Regions from separate parts of the Homo sapiens genome. Here all the other regions are linked to region 2. The links are contacts of gene promoters, found by promoter capture Hi-C in human tissues and cell types (Jung and others, 2019). All regions are on one chromosome and are shown on one strand. The core of a region is centred on a gene start or on the middle of the fragment in contact, and the rest is flanking DNA. Distances in the headings are between cores, read along the strand shown.

Evidence for each region. Contacts are between HindIII fragments. The study calls those that stand out against the background at their distance.
Region 1: a contact is called between the fragment with the promoter of KRT26 here and the fragment with the promoter of KRT15 in region 2, in 1 of the 25 tissues and cell types used here (lymphoblastoid cells).
Region 3: a fragment that was not itself captured here is called in contact with the fragment with the promoter of KRT15 in region 2 in 1 of the 25 tissues and cell types used here (neural progenitor cells).

What each region holds. Positions count from the first base shown.
Region 1 is chr17:40,770,776-40,773,524 of GRCh38, forward strand. KRT26 (keratin 26) reads right to left here and starts at 1,426. Exons shown (of 8, transcript NM_181539.5): 1 at 898-1,426; 2 at 379-461. The coding sequence starts at 1,338. The HindIII fragment of the contact is 6,204 bases long and covers 461-2,749 here.
Region 2 is chr17:41,517,520-41,520,219 of GRCh38, forward strand. It overlaps KRT15 (keratin 15), which reads right to left and starts at 1,371. Exons shown (of 8, transcript NM_002275.4): 1 at 811-1,371. The coding sequence starts at 1,308. RefSeq lists enhancers at 1-6, 1,711-2,700. The HindIII fragment of the contact is 25,725 bases long and covers 1-2,700 here.
Region 3 is chr17:40,640,015-40,642,714 of GRCh38, forward strand. It overlaps SMARCE1 (SWI/SNF related BAF chromatin remodeling complex subunit E1), which reads right to left. Exons shown (of 11, transcript NM_003079.5): 4 at 2,441-2,545. Among named protein-coding and RNA genes, the nearest start is that of SMARCE1, 6.5 kb to the right of the region's middle. The HindIII fragment of the contact is 4,314 bases long and covers 1-2,700 here.

The DNA.
Region 1 (2,749 bases), core at 176-2,675, 750 kb before region 2:
CCGGGTTCAAGTGATTCTCATGTCTCAGCCTCCCAAGTAGCTGGGATTACAGGAGTGAGCCACCATGCCTGACTATTTTTTTGTGTGTGTACTTTTAGTAGAGACGGGGTCTTGCCACATTGGCCAGGCTGGTCTCAAACTCCTGACCTCAAGTGATCTGCCTGCCTCAGCCTCCCAAGGTGCTGGGATTACAGGCATGAGCTACTCTATCCAACCATGATAGCTCTTTTTATAACGGCTTATTTAATTCAATTTCTTTATTGATCTAGTCTGGCTTTAGAAAAACATTTTGGTTTTCAAAGCAAAATATATATTCCTTAATCCAATTGTAATATTTTAACTTTTATTAATATAATTAATCAGTTTGTTTTCACCTACTTCAGCCTGAAGTCATCAGCGGTCAGTCTGGCATTGTCATTTTGTAGAACAATGCTGGCATTGCAGATGGTCGCAGAAATAATCTAAATAGGGAAGATTGTGAAAAATGTTAATTACCAAAAGTCAAAGGAGGCTCCAGACTTCAGTGTGATTTTATATCTTCTTAATCTGTCAAACATCTGTTTTAGTATCTTTTTTCTATGTTAAAGAAATCTGGATTTTCTTCAGATAATAAGCATCCAGAGCTTAAGAGCCACATAGATACTTTTACTACTTTTGATCAAATGGTATGAGCTAAATATATGAAAAACGAAGTGACTATATCTGTTTTGAAATGATTTCTTTTTCATTATTTAATTCTACAAGATTTTATTGCCAGGTACTGTGCTTAGCACTGGAAATACAGAGTGAACAAATCTTACATCACATAAATTTGTTAGGCACATTTTATATTTTCTCTTCTTTAAATTATCAACACACAAAGTCTGTAGTAAAAGTATGCAAATCCCTATTTCTTACCTGCCTTTTAAGATCTTCTATGACTGAGAAGTATCTGCTATAGTCATGATCGTGTTCCCGGGAAGAGCCAGGCTCACATTTCTCGTACCAGCCCTTGATCTTCTGCTCCAGGTCTGCGTTGGCCTCCTCTAGAGCATGCACATGGTCCAGGTAGGATGCCAGGCGGTCGTTGAGATTCTGCATGGTCACCTTTTCATTCCCAGAGAGGAGGCTGTGCTCATTGCCAAGAAAACCAGCACAGGCACCACTTCCCAACCCTCCACCGCTATTGCAGAAGCTTCCTCCAGAAGAGATGCCCTCAAGAGTACAAGAAAAGCTGCTTCTTGCTCCCGATCCAACACACACATTCCCAGCCACGAAGCCTGTTCCTCCACCGGACAGCCTACCAGACCCAGTTCGCGAGCAGATCCTCCTGGATCCACCAGAAAGTCGAAAAGACATGGTGGCAGCACAGCCGGGCAACCCCTTCCCAGAAAGAGGAGCAAAGCCAGGGTTCACCTTCCACACTTGTTAGCTCCCTTGGCCTTTTATAGTATTCACTGGGTCATTTCAGTCTTGACTATGCCAGTCTGTAATAAAATTTACTTGCATCCTAATTGTTGTTTTTCACAATTGGGTAATTTTTAACAGCGTCCAGTCTGTAGGTGGAAAGGTGCCCCAAGGATATTTTTTATATATAAAAATGGTGCCAGGTGAAGTAAAACTAAATCATAGCCTCAAAGGCCAAAATTAAATATGACTAAATGTGCATCTTTTTGGCCACTGGAATATTAATAGAATCTAGATTCTCCCCCTGCCACATATAACAAAGAATTAATAATTCCAATGAGAAATGTCTCCTACTTTTGTCCTGTTAACGCTCATAGAGTATTTCTAGTATTCCCACTTCATTGAGTGCTTCCTTTCTTCCTTTCGTTTCTTTTTCTTTTTTCCTTTTTTTAAAGATATGTGGTCTCGCTATGTTTCCCAGGCTGGTCTCGAACTCCTGGCCTCCAGTGATCCTCAGCCTCAGCACCCAGCTCAGCCTCCTGTGGCCAGCATTACAGGTGTGAGCCACTGCCCTGGGTGTCTGGGTGTGTGTTTTCCTTCTTATCAAAACCAGAAAATCTCAGCATCTATTGATCTTTTGGTAGTGGGAGATTTTAAAAGAAATCTACCATTTCTTGAATTGAAAACTGAAGTAATAGAAATCCTGCAGTCCTGCTTATTGTTAATTTCAATATAATTCATGAATATGTGATGATGGTGGAGAATTAATTCGATTGAGATTTCTTGGTTTGGTCCAGGAGCAGGACATCAATTCAACTAACAGTCTCCAAATTGTTCACTTCCCTACCCCTAAATAGTGTTTACTGTCTTTTAGTTTAAATGTATGTATTTAAGACATTAGGAATTATTTTGAGAAGTGAGCATCATATTGATTAGCAAGGAGTAAAATATATAAGGAGGGAGGTGTTTTCATCATTACCTAGAAAACCAGTACTTATAGTACCCTAGAGAGAAGATAAGTTGTCACAGGGAAGTACTCTTTATTCTCTTGCCTTGATGCTCTTGGGAAGTTATCCAGGCTTGGATCATTTCCCTACTGGGCAAATGAAAATAATAGCATCAAAGAGTCTCAAATGAATGTTGAGCAGTTCCAATCATGAATGACGATAAGACAGTTTGAAAGGCACAAACATTTTTAAATGTTAATTATTTAAATTATTATAATAAAGTGGACATGTCAGACAGGGTCGGGTCTCTATCACCTATAATGATACAAATTGATTGGTTAACTAATTATGGGTTTAGTTTTGAAACAGTAATTTTCTTCCGAATGATATTTTTCAATGTTGTGGATAGTGAATCC
Region 2 (2,700 bases), core at 121-2,620:
CCAGCCCCACTGTGGACAACTCATGGTCACTGCCTCCTGCACACCTTGGACACAGCCATGGATCTACAGAACATTCCAGCCAGTAGCAACCTGGAGGGCAGTTAAGAAGGCATTTTACGAATGAGGAACCCAGTCTTAGGGAGTAAAATGGTGAGTGAGTGGGTGGCAGAATGTGTAATGAGTTCCCAGGTCTCCTAAGACCCAACAGTACTTTTGGCACAAAAGACCTCTTTATAGGAAAAGACAAGAGGTTCTAGCATCTGGAACTCATGAGGCCACACTCCAATCCCATTCTTGCAAAAGAGGTAAAGGAATACTTTATGCAGAAGCCTGCAGGGTGCATGAGGTAGGGAGGGCGAGTTGCTCTTTTTTTTTAATTATTTTTATTTAATTAGATACAGGTTCCACTCTGTCACCTAGGCCGGAGTGCAGTGGCACAGTCATAGCTCACTGCAGCCTCTAAATCCTGGACACGAGCAATCCTATCACCTTGGCCCCCCAAAGCACTGGGATTACAGGTGTGAGCTACTGCCTCTGGCTCTTTATAATTGCCCCCACCTGTGCCCCTGTTGGTCCTAACCAGATTCCCAAGACCCCTCTCTCCCTCCCCCAGCACCACCAAGTTGAGAAGATGTGCACTGGCCTCTGCACCTGGACAGCAGGTGCATTCCAAATTTGCTGAGATTACATACCAGACAGTCATTGCCTGGGCAGGAAAGGATTTCCTTGAGTCAGCAGTAACACTGACATTAGAGCTGTGTACAGGGTACCAGCCACCTGCTCCCCTCTCTTTGACATCCGAGGACTCACCTTGTCCCGGAGCTCTTCAATGGTCTTGAAGTATTGGCTGTAGTCGCATTCTGGGCTGGTTGGGGTCTGCTTCTGGTACCAGTCATGGATCTTCACCTCCAGGTCAGCATTGGCCTCCTCCAGGGCACGTACCTTGTCCAGGTAGGAGGCCAGGCGGTCATTGAGGTTCTGCATGGTAATTTTCTCATTGCCAGAGAGGAGACCACCATCGCCACCACCAAAGCCACCACCAAAACCCCCACCAACGCCCCCTCCAAAGCCTCCACCGAAAACACTACCAGCCCCTCCACCAAAGCCACAGACCCTCATGCCACCCCCATATCCTCCTCCTGACCCTGAAGAGACAAACCTAGCAGAAGAAGCTGAGATACTTCGGCTTCCACCTCCCCCAGAGAGACTCCCCCCACCAAAGCCACCTCCCCCAGCCAGGAGGGAACCCCCTCGGGTTGAGCCACCCCCAAAGGTGGAGGAAGAAGTTTGCAGAAATGTGGTGGTCATGGCCAGGTAGCTGGAGCCCGTGAGTTCTCAGCAAACCCAAGAGATGCTGGCAGGAGGTACCAGGCCAGGCTGCACGCTGGGGCTCCTTATATACCCTTCAGAGGGTGTTGTGGGACCTCGTCTCCTCCCCTAAAGCAAAGCCAACTCCTTCTGCCTTCCTGACAAACACAGCTGCCTGCACACCTTGAGTGGGTCATGTGAAGTTTTTCTCTTCTATTTTTTTTTAATGCAACAAAAGAGATGATTCAGAATTAATAGTGTTTTTCCCCAGGGCACGGTTTTAACACTTGGATTACAGGTTCATCTCTCCATGCCAGAAGAGAGCAGCAGGGAGCGAACTCTCATCACAGCACAGCTACCAAGGCCTCTGCCTGTACTGAGAGCAGCTCAGGCCAACTGTGCCCTCAGCTGGACTTCACTTCCCCGAGCCCTGAGCCTCTCCCCAAGAGGACAGCTCCGTGTTCTTAGTTTGGGAGTCCACTGGCCGATCATTATGCTGTGTTATCCAACTCAAAACCCTGTGAGTGAGTGAGTGAGTGAATGAGTGAGTGAGTGAGTGAGTGAGAGACTGCAGGGCTCAGGGAGAGTGGAGGCCCTGGGGATGGGAATGCAGGGCCCCTGGGGGCAGGTGGAGGACAGGAGCCAGGGACCTTGAGTAGTGTTCCAGCTGAGGTGACCAGAGGAGCCAGCATCCATCCCCTTACCTGGTGCTGCAGATGGACTCCCCTCCTCCCACCTCTACTCCCCTCCTGCCATCCTCCAGCCTGTGTTCCTGGCACCCTCACAAAAGCCCAGCAGGCTTGGGACTGACAAGGGGATGACTGATGATCCCGACACCTGCCAACTGCACGGCGCTGAACCTTTGCTCGTTTCTGGGATGTGTTGGGGCAAACCTCCGCTGATAAGGCTGGGGCAAGTTCCAGGAAGCCCCTGCCTTCTCCAGGAGAGGCATGTCGCTGCTTAGCAGGGCCAGATTAGCCCCCATCTGTCCTGTCAAGTGCTGGCTGGGGACGGGCCGCTGCAGAAGGCTCTATGTGCCTGAATGCTGTGGAAGGGAAGAGAAGGGAGACTGGCAGGCAGGCTGGAAGACACCGGAGATCTTGAAGACCAAGGCATTGCTTCACACAGACGGGGAGTTGAACACTCAGGAGAGCCCTTTTCTCTGCCACCAGCTCAGGGACACCTTTCCAGGGACACCTGATACCTGTGGGCAGTGCCACTTGGAGGTGTGGCTCAGCCCTCTGGACCTGGCCCCAGGGCTTACAGAAACTCAGGAGGAGGATTCCTAGCCCAGGTTGCAGCATGGTGAAGTGGACAGGGCTCTGGAGTCCCTCAGGCCCGGGTTTGAATCCTGGCTTTATCAATTATCATGGTAAGACTGTGAGGCCTGGG
Region 3 (2,700 bases), core at 171-2,670, 880 kb before region 2:
TCAATTTCCAATGGGGAGGCGGGTAGAACTGTGCTTACAGAAGAGCAAGGTCCTAGGAAATCTCCTATGAATAAAGTTCATGGTTTTGTGAAATTTATCTTGGTTACTCAGTTTTTTGTTGTTGTTTCTTTTGCAATTCTCAGCTGTTTCTCTAGCAAGAACTTATTTAAGAGCTTTCTTCTGGGGCAGAATTTCTATTAATGTACAGAAATAGGCTGTTTTTAAAGACATTTTTGTCTCAATGTGTTTTCACACCTGTACTTAAGAGAATGTTAATCATCATCTGAATGAAGAACTGACTAGGAGTGAATTCCATCTTGTAGCTATCATAAGCACTCCAAAAGGTCTCGACATGCTATACAAAGTATTTACTGTCTGAGAACTACCCAAGTATACTGGAGTCATCAGGGAAACCCAATGTTCTCTACAGCCTACCACAAGCTACTGGACAGGGCTTCACAGATTCGTTCCTTGAAAACCACTAATGCAATCTGCGCACAACAATACCATACAGGAGCTTCCCCTCACCCCCAAAAGTAATGCATAACTAGGGTCATAGTAAAATCAAAATGCTTTTATTATGGTCAAAATCAGAGCCATTGAGTCCTAACAGCTTAAACTAGATATAGAAAGCAGGGCAAGTAGTGTAAAACCTCCACATTTTCTAGGCCCTTCTTCATATAGCAGTTTGATTATACTTCAATTTGGTGTTAAGAGGACAATAATACAAAGTAAATGTCCACAAAGGACCAAAACACCAAATTTTCCATGTCCAACAACTCTCTATAATTAATCTACTATGTAGCTAGTGTCCACGCCAAATGTTCAGTTCTTAACATTCGCCAAGAAGGAATGGGAAGAAACAGATGAGTGACTTCAGATAGGGAGTACACTTTCTCTTCCTAGTCTCCATCGAACAATCTCACTTTTTTAACTGAGAATCCCCCACAGCTACATCCAAGTTAAGAGCAAAATACTTACACAAAACCAAAAGACAAATTACTGTAATATTATAGTTATCATTTCTATTCCATTAACATAGATAATCAAGAGGTGACTGTATAGAGCTATTAAATGCAATCATTCTTGTTTACTGCCCGTGAAAAAATTGCTGCATTAACATTAAGATCCATGATTGATTCCGTTCATTGTTTAAACTGAAATGTTCTTTATCATTTGAAAACCTTGCCATCCATTACACTTGTGAAACAACATGTTTAGGCCAGGGAAAAACATGTATTGATGCACATAAAAATTGTATGCATTGTGAAATGCATACATACACACACTTTGTCAGAATTCTTTTTCAGATACCATGAAATATGCATGGCACATAAAACTTGATATGCTTATGAAGTACATATTATGCAGAAACAATGAAAAATTTAGACAAACAAAACCTATCAAGCTAAGCAATATGCTTATCAAGATAGACATTCATTTGATAGCTACAAGCTTTCAGTTCCAGCTTGACTACAGGGTGAGAGGGCTTTTTTGAAGTTACATTAATAGAAGGCACTTGTTATTTATGAATACAGCAAACAAAAACCAGGTATTAAAAACTTTACAGCCATTCTGGGTTGTATAAATTCTCACCAACACTACATTCCAATGTAGTATTTGACTTTTGGATTTTTTATCTTTAGTAAGTCATTTTTATAATTATTGGCATTTTTTGGTGCTTAAACTTTTTTGAATGAAATTTAAGATGATTCTAAACTAAAAGATTTGAAGTGTATCATCCAATTTTGATATCTTAGGCTGATCACTTAAATGAAACATGCTAAGTTTCAGAAATCCTATCTCTTATACTAAGGATTAGAAATGCACTTCTCGTTGTACATATCTAGTCTGATACTTCAAATTAATTTCATTCAACCTTCACTCTGCATTTCTTTGAGGTGACATTAAAACGTTTTTCTCTTTTTCACTGTAGAGAAATGAGTCTTAGTTAGAAGGTCAACTACTAAATCCAAAAGACAAATAACTATGGGTAGCGATTCAAACTGGTGTACCAGCCAAAAGCTTTCCAGCCCTGAAAAAGCCAGGTCTGAAAGACCAGCCTCTACTAGAAACTCAATCCTTGAGACTAATGCCAATCACCTTATAAAAATGAAAAATACTCTTTATGTCAAAAAGGATATTTTTACCTTAAGAAATTCTGTTTGTTTACATACAGTATAAGCATCAAGTGCTCAAGGCTTTAACCCTACCAACCACCAAACAGAATGGATTTTTCTTTTCTTCTATATACATTCCAGATCTCACTATTTATTTTTTCAGTGTGAGATGCTACAACGAATGTTGAAAATACTCAAAAAGCTAGGTTAAAAAATTTTTTTTAAATGGCTGTGCTTATGATTCAAAAAGACCTAATTCTGAAGGCATTTCTGGTCAATTCCAGTTGTTTGCCGGATGCTGTAATAGTTGATTCTCCTACCGTGACCCGGCTGTTGGTGCCCGGGTTCCCTCCCAGCCTGTAGTTGTTGTAGGCGAGATGACTGTATGGATTGTATCCCACAAACCCTGGTGTGCTGGGCATTTGCTGATGGAAACAAATGAGACAAAAACACGAATGAGAAATGAGCTCAAACGAGGAAAACACAGAAATGAAAAATGATCTGCATATGGCATGCAAAAGCAACCTGAATTTAAACAAGCAATGATGTGTTGTAATTGTTCTTTTTTTCCACTGAGGAA